Regions from separate parts of the Homo sapiens genome. Here region 2 is linked to region 1. The links are contacts of gene promoters, found by promoter capture Hi-C in blood cells and fetal thymus (Javierre and others, 2016). All regions are on one chromosome and are shown on one strand. The core of a region is centred on a gene start or on the middle of the fragment in contact, and the rest is flanking DNA. Distances in the headings are between cores, read along the strand shown.

The links. Contacts are between HindIII fragments. The CHiCAGO score rates a contact against its expected background, and 5 or more counts as called.
Region 2: a contact is called between a fragment that was not itself captured here and the fragment with the promoter of CCDC122 in region 1, in 7 of 17 cell types (non-activated CD4 T cells, monocytes, total CD8 T cells and 4 more). The highest score is 9.0, in non-activated CD4 T cells.

Annotation. Positions count from the first base shown.
Region 1 is chr13:43,877,776-43,883,944 of GRCh38, forward strand. It overlaps CCDC122 (coiled-coil domain containing 122), which reads right to left and starts at 1,965. Exons shown (of 7, transcript NM_144974.5): 1 at 1,856-1,965. LACC1 (laccase domain containing 1) reads left to right here and starts at 2,129. Exons shown (of 7, transcript NM_153218.4): 1 at 2,129-2,344; 2 at 3,177-3,772; 3 at 4,410-4,588; 4 at 5,996-6,161. The coding sequence starts at 3,211. RefSeq lists a silencer at 1,867-2,016. The HindIII fragment of the contact is 5,095 bases long and covers 1-3,557 here.
Region 2 is chr13:44,427,780-44,433,958 of GRCh38, forward strand. TSC22D1 (TSC22 domain family member 1) reads right to left here. Exons shown (of 3, transcript NM_183422.4): 3 at 4,364-6,179. Among named protein-coding and RNA genes, the nearest start is that of TUSC8, 25 kb to the left of the region's middle. The HindIII fragment of the contact is 4,737 bases long and covers 2,562-6,179 here.

The sequences.
Region 1 (6,169 bases), core at 715-3,214:
AATTATGCATCTAACTCATACATAGAGGTTAAAACAAAACAAAAAAGCAAAGCAAAACATGCTCAGGCCTAACTCCTAGAGATTCTGATTCAATGTATATTTGGGATAGAGTCTCTACATTAATTATTTTTTTTTTCAGTTGCACTTGCAGTTCTGATTTGCAGCCAAGACTGAGAACCACTGGAGTAGGATAGAGTGAAAATGGGATGAGGAAGTGTTAGGACATGACACTAGGACCAGATGGTGAAAGGAAATGGTATGCAAATACAATATAACAAACTCTCTTCCCTGACAACTTCATTCTTTTGAAATATTTTCTTTTTCATTTTTTTTTTACTGCCACTACTTTTGCATGAAAGAATACGAATCCCACCATTGTAAAAACAGAGATAAATGTTTAAAACCTTTGTAACTAAAAGACCTCTGTTTTGCTTGAGGTATTAAGCTGGTGCAAAAGTAATTGTGGTCTTTGTCAATGGCAAAAACCGCAATTACCTTTGCACCAATCTAATGATATTTAACATAAACAAACTCAGGGCAGAGTGCACCTTCTGATTGGGTGTACCATCTACCGCTCGGGGCTCTTTAACAAATGACCAAAGAAAACATGAATTTTGACATAACTGGTGCTAGGGTTATTGAAGGGTGGGTTTCCATTCTGGGTTAGTGCTCCCAGTCTCTAGTCAAGCACAAGAACATGCCTACCCCAGAGGGCTCTTCCAAATTCCCAGCTATCTGAGATTATGAGACAAAGGTTCTTTAGCGCCTACCAAATGAGCAACAATGAAGATAAAAGGGACCTCTCCTTCCATCATAACCAGTTCCCCAGGAAGCACCATTTCTCTTACTCTTGGAAGGTCGGATATTTTTTCCCTTTACCATACACTGGCCTTCCATGTCCTAACTGCTATTTTCAAATAAATGAACGTTATATTCTTGGAGGACAGATCAGGGATGCTAAACTGCACCTTTATCATGATTTTAGGGATGAGCGCCTTTTACTTAAGTCCTGCTAGTGGCACATATTTTAAAAGGCCATAGAGGACATCCGTGTTGTCAACACAAGTGAAGGCGCTCGGAAGAGTGTTGGTCAGCAAGAATCAGCACAAAGACATTGGAGGAGAGACAACAGCTTGTTTCTGGAAACAAATGAACAACAAAAAAACACTAAAACATCTCGAGGGGGCCCCTGACTTGAGCCCTGCATGGGAAAAGCTGCCAAGAGCTAGCATGACAAGGGACTGGCCCTGGGCTGCGGTGAGGAAACCCAGCGTCCTGACCACACTGCTGGGTCAGCGAGGCGTCCCTCAGAGACCGGAAACGCGGACTTCAGCTCGCTTGGGAAACGGCTTCCATTAGCAGAAGGGAGACTGCGGTTTAGTCCCGAGGTCGCTCCAGCAGCCCGGCCTCACGCGACCCACCATTCCCGCCGCCCCCTCACGGTGCCCGCCGTTCCCGCCGCCCGGCTTTCTAACCGGGCCCCTAGTTCCCCGCCCCGTGCCCTCTGGAGACCTGCAGCTCCTGCCGCCCTGCGCCCGCTCCCAGGGCCCGTCGTTCCGCCGCCCTATCCCTCCTCAAGGGGCCCCTAGCTGCCTCCTCGCGACCCTTTCCGGACTCGGCCTGCCCACTCCTGCCCGCTAACCCGCCTGGCTCCCGGGCGAGAGCCCTCGCGCGGCTCTGGTTCCTGTTCCTCTAACGCCGCCGGGGCTGCGGGATGCCGACTCCGCGGACCGCCCAGACCCGGAACTGCTGAGGCAGCAGCGGGCTCGCGGCGCTTGGCTCATCCCGGGATTCCCCAGCTCTCGCGCTGGGCCCGCCGCGTTCGCACCAAGCACGCCAGGCGGCCCTGGCCTACCTCCCTCCCGCCTCCCGGCAGCTGGCACGAGGGAACCTGGCCGTCAGGTTTCCCCTGGGATCCTGGGACGGTATCAGGCGGGGAATCTGTGCGGCCGCGGCGAGGTAGGTGAGGTGAGGCGGGGCGAGGTGGGCGAGGGGGGCGAGGTGAGGCGGGGCGAGGCGGGGCGAGGCGAGGCGGGGCGAGGTGGGCGAGGTGGGCGAGGTGAGGCGGGGCGGGTGTCGTCGCGCTGGGCCGAGCTTACGACTCCAGCTGACCCGCTCGCGGCTGCCCAATTTCGTTGAGGCTCAGGACGAGGGACGGGGCGGCAAATTGTCACAGAGGTCGCCGTAGACCGGTGTGCAACCGAAGGTGAAGAGCGGGAAGGCGAGGACCGAATCGCCTCTGGTGTGCGTTGTCCGACAGGAAGTCCCGAATGGGCTGTGAGCCGCCGGTGGAGGTGCCCGGGCAGGTGCAGAGCCACAGCCTGCGCCCCGTGAGCCGAGGCGGGTAGGAGGAACAGGGACCTGGCGGCGACACACGTTGGGCGGAAATTCACAATGAACAGGGAAGGGGGGACGGTCACCCACTCAAAACTGGCTAAATGAACCTCAGAGGGAGCCCCGAGAGATGGGGAGCAAAGGTTAGGGGAAGCGGCAGGAGAAAACCTTCTTGGGGCAAAGGGCGTCACCAAAGGGGGTCACCGGAGCCCCGCAGGTTGGGGTGGGAGGGCTGGGCTGGAGGTGAGCAAAGCTGCACGGGGAGAATGAATTAAGAAAGTTGAGAGGAAGCCTGTCTCATCCAAATCACTATAGCTTTTGTGGTCATTGCTAAGTGTGGAGTACTGCGCAAATCCTGAAGGGAACTCTATTAGCCATCTCAGCTTTTATCATCTTAAAACGCGAATTTCGCGTGCAGCTCCATTTAGCTTCGTAAACTTAAGCCCCCGCATATGAAAGGATGAGACCTAATATGACAATCATGTCAGGACTAATGATATATCACACAGGTTGACACTCTGCAATTTAAAAACAGGACTTTGTCTAAACTCCACAAGTAATTCCTTACTCAAAAGTTCTGTGTAAACAAAACAGAGGAACTGTCGTGCTGCTGGAAAGATGTACCAGCATTTTCACAAAACGAATTAAAAGATGGCTTTGCTTTCACTGTCATGGTTCTGTTGTGACAGAGTAGACTGGCTTTTCTGGGAGGGGCCTAGATTTACTATTTTAGTTACATTTTAAAATCAGTGTAATTACTTCGTTTTTAATCTACCACAAATTTCTGTTGTAACTATAAGATTTATATAATCTTATATTCTTACACTAATTTTTATTTGCAGGTGATTTATTTGGCATAAAAGTATTCTTTCAAGGATGGCAGAAGCTGTTTTGATTGATCTTTTTGGTTTGAAATTGAACTCTCAAAAAAACTGCCATCAGACATTACTGAAGACTTTGAATGCTGTCCAATACCACCATGCTGCCAAGGCCAAGTTTCTCTGTATAATGTGTTGCAGTAACATCAGCTATGAAAGGGATGGAGAACAAGATAATTGTGAAATAGAAACAAGCAATGGATTATCAGCTCTCTTGGAAGAATTTGAGATTGTTAGCTGTCCCAGCATGGCTGCCACTTTGTATACCATTAAACAGAAAATTGATGAAAAAAATCTGAGCAGCATTAAGGTAATTGTACCCAGGCACAGGAAGACATTAATGAAAGCTTTTATTGATCAACTCTTCACTGATGTTTACAATTTTGAATTTGAAGATTTGCAAGTGACTTTTAGGGGAGGGCTTTTTAAACAGTCCATTGAAATAAACGTAATCACAGCTCAAGAACTAAGAGGAATTCAGAATGAAATAGAAACATTTTTGAGAAGTCTGCCAGCACTGAGAGGAAAATTAACTATTATCACTTCTTCTTTGATCCCAGGTATATTAACCACTAACTGTTGTTTTTACTTTGTACATGGAAAACTAGTCTTTCTTCAGAGGTAGTTCACCTCTTTTTTTCCTCCTTTCTTTTGTTGACTGTTGTGGGCTGATTACTCATTAGCATCAGTGGCAACACAGAGGTGTCATGTTTGGCCCTGTAGTATCAGGGGTGTCAAGGGATAAAGCCTTCAAAGCCACCCCAAATAAATAAATTTGCTTTACAAAAATTTGATGATGAGACAAATAATCTAGCCCTCCTTTGCAATGAGATTTATGACACTGAAAATCTTCTATTTAGAAATTCTGAAATTTCAAATCATTGGCACCTTCATAGAAGAGTAAAATTTAAAACAATCAATCTTACTTCTTGGTTAAACAGTATTTTCTGTGAGCTATATGCTATTAGATATAACAAAGCCAGATGAGACACAATATACCTTTTGAAGAGCAACAATCTCATAGGGAGTGTAAAACAAACACAAAGCAGAATGCCATAAGAACATATGGAGGTACAAAATGCCATAGAAATTAGAAGCCAAATAACAAGGGCAGGTAGCAGTGATCAGGGAAGGTCTAATTGAGAGACTGGTATTTTGAATAGCATCTTTTAAATCTTCACTGCTTATCTTCAACAGATATTTTCATACATGGATTTACTACAAGAACAGGTGGGATATCTTATATACCAACTCTTAGCTCATTCAATCTCTTCAGTAGTTCCAAACGGAGAGATCCCAAGGTAGTGGTTCAAGAAAATCTGCGTAGGTTGGCGAATGCTGCAGGATTTAATGTGGAGAAATTTTACCGAATAAAGGTAAAATTTTGCTTTATATTTTGAAAGATCTAAAGTATATTTTTTACTTTGCTAGTAACTACATGGACTTTAAGCTATTTAACTTTTGTATCTGCTTTTTTATCTAAAGTTTTAGAATAATGCTGTGGTTGTCTTTCTTAGATTTATACACCATAGCCTAAAGATAAGTTCTATTTTATACACACACACACACACGTGCAGATATATATATATATATATATATGCACACACACATATAGTAAGTCATCCTTTAATGTTGATAGGTTCTTAGAAATTGTGACTTTAAGTGAAACGACATAATAAAACCAATTTTACCATAGGCTAATTGATATAAATAAGAATAAAGTTTCTAAGGCATATTTCTTGTCACAAAAACATCACCAAACTTCTAAATAAAGACCAACACATTCCTAGTATTAAACATTGAAATAAATGTGAGCTAGACATATATTTACAAAACAGTAAGAAAGACAAATAAGATAACTACCAAATTATTTCGGTTCAGGGCTTTAGGTAGCTGGAGTCTATTCTGGCAGATCAGGATGCAAGGCCACAACCCACCCTCGACAGGACACCATTCCATTGCAGGGTGCCCTTACACACACACACACGTACTCATGCTGGGACCATGTAGACACCCCAATTCATCTAACATGCACTTCTTTGGGATGTGGGAGGAAGCTGGAGTACCCAGAGAAAACCCATGTGGACGTGAGGAGAAGGTGCAAACCTCACACAGTCAGTGACCGGGTGGGTAATCAATTTTTTTCATTAACATTATAATGAAATGATGTGGAATAAAATGACATTATTCAAGAGCCTACTGTATATTTCATCTGGAGTCCTCAATTCTAAAAGTACAGTTAATTCTCAGAGAGTATACTACCACTGCTCTTTTTGATTTAGAAGAAAGGGAACTGAATGGTGGTAGAGAAAGGCCATTATTTTATAAATCTACTCCAGGAGGAACTAGGGTCATAGTTGATGAGATAATGTCTTGTTCCTTACAGAATTCTAGCTTTACTTGAGTCTTGGAAAAGTAAAAGTATCATTGATTTGTTAATTAACTTTCCTTTACAAGAAAAATTTTCATTTTGTAGAAAGTGCTATAAGAAATGATATACCTATCTTTATGGAAAGATGTTCATTATTCACTATATTGAATTTTATAATGTTAAACTCTGCTTTTCTTTGCATAAACTATCAGAGATTATAATCTAAAATCTTAAATAGTTAAATTATAAGTAAATTTTGTGTTTTCCCATATATAAAAGTGATATATTTAATGAATGCTAGTAATCTTAAACTGGTTATATAATTTTATACTACAATGAGTACCTTCGAGAAAGCTTATGGTATAAGAAATACTATTTCCAAAACATTTTTGTTGCACATTTTTGGTATTAGACTCATCATTCCAATGACATCTGGATTATGGGAAGAAAGGAGCCTGACTCTTATGATGGAATAACCACAAATCAGAGAGGAGTCACAATAGCAGCTCTTGGTGCAGACTGTATACCGATAGTTTTTGCAGATCCAGTCAAAAAAGCATGTGGGGTTGCTCACGCTGGTAAGTAT
Region 2 (6,179 bases), core at 3,680-6,179, 550 kb after region 1:
CTGGTGATCTGTAATCTAAGACAAATTATCTTCCCTTCCACTGACAATGCACAATGGTGGAGTGCAGCATAATAATTGCAATAAACCTCCCATTGGAAGCATAGGAAACACACAGTAGGCTCCAGCCCTCAGCTATTAGGAAATCCTGTTGGGCAGGCATTGAGAAGATCCCTTTGCCCTGGCAATAGGGGAAGCTCTCCCATTAGACCATGATTCTATTCTCTGGGAAGAAACCCTTGGTGCATTGTTCTCTAAAACTGCAGGCCTCTTACCTCTGGGAGGCTTTTCTTGTCCAGTATCCCCCAGGGCCATGTATGAAATGGATGTTGGAGATAATGCTCTTCCTGGGAGCTAGACAGCTTTAGGCTCCCACTTCACCCACTTCCATCTCCTGCCAGTGTTGGGGGGGCCTGAGGGTTGTTTGAAGGTTTCAACAAAGTTTTCTTGCTGTTATTAAGTCTGGGTTGGCTGGTGATTTACTTGGTAGTAAATGTTCTTCAAAAACTTAGTAAGCTTCTCCCTTCTCTGTTTCCAGTCATTTTAATGTTATCAGTAGCAAGACCTAAAACATTCTTCTGCACATGCCTGTACTTCTGCTCCCCTACCTCTATCCACTGGACAGTGACCATGCAGAAGTCATCTGAAACAAAAGGCATATATGGGGAATTAATACCCTTTGTCTACTCTTTGCTGAAGGGATAAAGCACCTTAACTGAAAAGGCTTAATGGGCCCTACTGATTTCCAGCTCCTTGGGGTGTAGAAGCAATAGGCTTTTCCAGTATCAAATAGCCCCAAATTTCTGCATTTCTTTTTCCCTTTCCTTTGTACTTACAAACTAATTCTTTTGTGAGCTCACCTTTTCCCTGAAAAACATCAGAGGAGTAACACAGTGAAGAGTGAAAGGTCCTAACATTCTTGTACCAGCTACGTGCACACCAGGCACATGGCCAGCCTTCTAAGTTATTGCTGGCCACAGTTTTAGAAAACATTTTGTCACTTCACAATATGGGTCTTGATCTCTCTAGCCTCCACTAGTTTCATCACCACCCACCACCAGCCAACCATAGTCAATGCCCCATATTTAAGGTTTTTTTGACATCACTCCACTTCAGGTACTGATAACCATATTAGCAAAGGTTAGCCACTGAAGCTAATTTTAAAATGCCTAATGGCGGCAACACTCTTGCTCATCCAAATATGCTGCCTGGTTCGTGGGGGAGGGCACTATACTTCGGTCATTCAGGGATCCAGCTGACAAAGGCTCTGTCACTCCCAAGGTTGCCGGGTCTTCTCCATCCCATCAGTGGAAGGAGAAGGAGCCTGGCAGATCACTGAGAATGGTTTTCTCATGGGCCAAGCCTGGGGGGCTTCAGTTACTTCATCACTCATCCACTGACTAAACCTGAGTCCCACGGTCACTCCTAACTCCAAGGGGGCGGGGAGATGTAATTCAGGCGTGTGCCCAAGTGGAATAGAAAATGGAATCTTAGGCAACCAGCTTGTCGCAGTTTGCCTGGGACTTTCATGGATGTGACATTGAAAGTTCCACTACTCAGAACACCCTCAGTCCTGGGAAAACCAGTTTAAGTAGAGACACTAAGTCTCACTGTTTAAGTAGAGACACTACCTCTTCTGTTTTCTTGGTCTCTGAATCTACAGTGACTACAAACCACTTATCAGGGCATGAATTGGATGCACTTATGAGACAACAGGGCAGATTATTGTAACTGAAATATATGTGTCCCTGAAAATTTGGGTCATGTGTTATATAACCTTGGTGATACACATCTACAAACATGGTCTTTGTTCCTAAATGAATCAGCTATAAAATGTAGTGGTAGGGGATATACCGCATTGAAAAACACTACTCATTTAACAAGAGTTCCTAGAAGAATTCCCAGAAATATTTCTGCCAAAGGGTTCGTCTGAGAAGGAACAACAAATGAATAATTCAGATATTATATTGCATAAGGCAAATTTTGCCAGAAAACAAACTACCTCATTTATCTTAAAGACAGCTTATGTGAACTGTCCTTGGGGACAGGGACTGTGGCTCATTCACTACACTATCTCTGGCTTCTAGCAGGTACTCAGTAAATGTTCTCTGAGTAAGTTAACACATGGTTTTCAACACAAAGTACCAGTTTACTGTGCACCATAGTCACACAAATAGCCTGTGCCCCCTTTCTCTCATCAAAAAGAAGAGATTTTCCTGATTTATTTTGAGCTGAAGGGTGGTGAGCTGCCATTTAGGGCAGATTCTAGTTCTTGAGACAGTCAGACGACAGAAGGCGGAGGGGACACATGTGGCCTGTGGGCCAAACCAGCTTAGTAGGTGTGCTCTCTTATTTGGTCTGTGCAGTGTCCAAAAGTCAGGCATTTCCAGACAGAATCCTGGATTTATGGAACTTGGAAGAAATTGGAAGATCAAGCAACACAGTGCTTGAATTCCCATATGGCAACTGGATGGAGCTACATAGCACTGTCCCTGTTAGCTGAGCACACTCCCCAACTGCCACAGTCACTACCATGTCCTACTGCTTACCCTACTCACTCAAGAAGCTTCTCCACCATATCCGACAGACACTGGGGTCCTGAACACCTGGTCTAAAGCACAGACCTCTGTTGTAATACTGCACATTTTTAAATGGCTACTGAACCTTCCAAGTAGCTGTTGCCAGAACCTGATCTCCAAGCCTAGCGACTTCAGGCCTGCCTGGCATTCCATAGCACTGGTTTACATAGAACCTTTTTCTGTAATGAAATTAATAATTTAAGATATATATATACTCCACCTGTAATCATTTCCTTCCACCAATATTATTTCTGTAGTACCGAAAATATTGGACACTGAAACATGGACAATTCCCAACGAATCCCTTCTCTAATTCACAGAAATGAAATGCAGCCTTTTGCTATTATTTCTTTGATACAGAAAAAAACGGTGTGTTTCTATCTGTATTCTAAAGGACATTATTCCCATGTGTGTTTTCACAGTAAAGTTTAAACAGTCACTACTATTACCAAATACTAAATCAAAAGCTATTAGAAAATAAAGCTGCCACACCTTTATCCCTATGAAAAATACAAAATTAAATATATAAACAAACATAAACAAGCAGATGAATGACTCAGAAATAATAGTAATGGTTAACACTCCTTGAACCCACCTCACTCTGAACTGTCTCTGTGCTGACAGCTTCCCAGCATCAGCCTCCCAAAACCCCTATGGAGATAGCATGTCCCCATTTTAAGCATGAGGAAACAGAGAACAACAAGGAACTTGCCTGAGGTCACTTAGCTAGTAACTAGCAGAGGAGCTAGGATTAAAACCAAATTAATTTTAGCCATTAAGTTAAATGAATAAACAAAAACAGTGCACGCACACACACACACACACACCCTCCCACCAAAAGTTCGAAGAATAAAATAAAGTCATTATCAGATGCAGAGGACTGTAGCATCTGTGGCAAGACAGGATCTTTGTGACCTGATCCAATCCTTATTTCACAGGTGAGAACTCAGGTCTGAAGGATTCCATTCCTGGTCCAAAGGTCAAACAGCTGATGACTGCAGGGCCAGGCCTAGCAGCCAGAAGCCTGCCTCTCAGCTCAGGGTCCTCCCACACACCAGTGCAGGAACCTATGGCACTGTCTGCTTCCAAGTTCTATCGGTGGGCACAGATCTCCACTTGCAGGCAATGTTACCTAAGAGGGAGAGGAAACTTGATTTTCTCTGCCTCCATTTCTAAAAATCGTAATGCCACAATTGCTGCCTGAATGGATTTGAAGTTGACATCTAAAAGCAGTCATGTTGTCAGCCCCTGGTAGTTTCAACTACTTATTTTACACAAAGCAAGAGCAGAGTAGTGTCTATATAGATTAATTTTCATTCCTAATTTTAGTTATAATTAACTTTTATACATTTCTTGTATAAATTTAAAGCTGTTCTGGCATTGCATATTTATTCCATAATGAAAAATAAAAGTTCTCTTTTAAAGTATGCAAAAAATGCACACAATTACTGAAATATGAACACTGTTCATTTGAAATACAAAGTAGACGTTCATTCAAATCCATGTAAAATTCCTACTTCTCCTTCATTGAACGGGGGTTTCTCCTGCTGCAACTGATGTCATGAACACTCAGTGCTGGTACAGCATGCCATTCCCCTTAAAAATCTTTCCTTCTCCACAGAACATAAGTGCAACATAATCAGTTATATAATAACCCACAGGCCAATAAGACCTACACTCAGGTCTATAAGCAAGTAGCAAAATGCCTTTTTAAATTACCTTAAATATGTTTAAATATAAGTCAATCATCTCAAGTATGTTTAGTAATTACTAAAATGAGGAACATGTATGGAAAGACATCTTTTAATAATTCATTCTTATTTCACAAATATTCAGCTGCCAAAATTTCATGAGTCTCACATTTTTAATAAAAAGACCCAAAGTTCCATTAAATAATGGAGAAAAAAACTTCTCCACCATCTTAATACACTGACATGAGATTTTTCAAATTTTCCACGATTACCACCTATGGTATTTTAAAGATCTTCATTAAAAACATAAAAAATGAAATGGCTAGGGATTTCTATTCACTATAGTTTTTTCAAGGAAATGTAATTACTACGTAAGTATTCCTTTATTAAATTTGAAGTTATATAACCAACAAGCCAATATGAAAGATTTTTCTTTACGTCCTTTTCAAATTCCCCCAAAATATCTTTATGACAACTGCTATCAGCCTATGGCAGTGAGCCATCCATCATTTCAACAGGATGCCCGTGTCACCACTTTATAACACATGCACGCTATCGAACAATTCTTTTTAGGGATCTTGGATGTCCCATTCACCTCTCAATCTCCCACCAGCTCTAGATGAGAGAAATGAATGATTCAGAAAGTTTGTCCTTGTTCTGCAAGGACTTAAGACAAGCCTTAGAACTTGGGATTGGTCCAATTCCTACTGGGCAGGGGGCCACTGCTGAGGCCCTAGGTTGATAGATTACAGAGCCGGTAAACCCACCCCATTCACTTGCTCGCTCACGTTACTCCTACTGCAGAGTGGGATCCCTCAGGCTCACTCCTCAGGTGCCAGGGGCCAATCTGCCTCAGGATTCCTTCGTGGTTTTAATTTTGGCCTGTTTTATAGTCATGCAGAATCAACTGCAAGGACATCCTTGCTCATCTGGTCCCACCTCAAATCATCTTTTGCTTAGACAAAACGAATTATCCCAGGAGCTAGAAACTCATCCTACACTAGGAGAAACATCCCAACCCAGGGTGACAGGGTTCTTAAAGTGGAAATCAGCTTCTCCAACTTCCGTCTTTTGATCCTAGATCTGCTTATTCCAATTATACACAGAATAAGGCTCCTTCTTCCTCTCAGTTCAGTAAAAAATTAAGATTTTCAAGGACTCCTAGAATTTTAAAGCCAAAGGGGAATGTAAGAGATCATCTCTTTCAAACCCCTACATCCGTCCAGGAGTGAAGCAACCTGTCCAAGTCACACAGTAGTTAGAATTGAGCTGGACTCCTCCACTGTCTCTTCTCTTACCTGCTGAACAACTCAATGTGTCAATTTCCTTTTACTTCATGCAGTCAAATCACGCCCCTACTTTTCCAATCATTCCACTGCCCTTCAGGATTTTACTAGTCAAATTGTTAACTTTACCTGGAAACAGTTGTGGAAATGACTGCCATTATGTTAACAGGGTCATATGAAAAACACTTGTTTATCAACATTTATATGCTTTATTGAAAGTTGACAAGTGCAACAGTTAAATACAGTGACACCTTACAATTGTGTAGAGAACATGCACAGAAACATATGCATATAACTACTATACAGGTGATATGCAGAAACCCCTACTGGGAAATCCATTTCATTAGTTAGAACTGAGCATTTTTCAAAGTATTCAACCAGCTCAATTGAAAGACTTCAGTGAACAAGGATTTACTTCAGCGTATTCAGCAGCTAGATTTCAGATTACACAAAGTGAGTAACTGTGCCAAATTCTTAAAATTTCTTTAGGTGTGGTTTTTGTCATGTAGCAGTTTTTATGTAGATCTATATATAAAAGTCCACACCTCCTCAGACAGCCAATGAAACAACTAAATTTCAATCTGTACAACCTAAATAGTAGTTACAGTCCTCTATTGTACAAAATA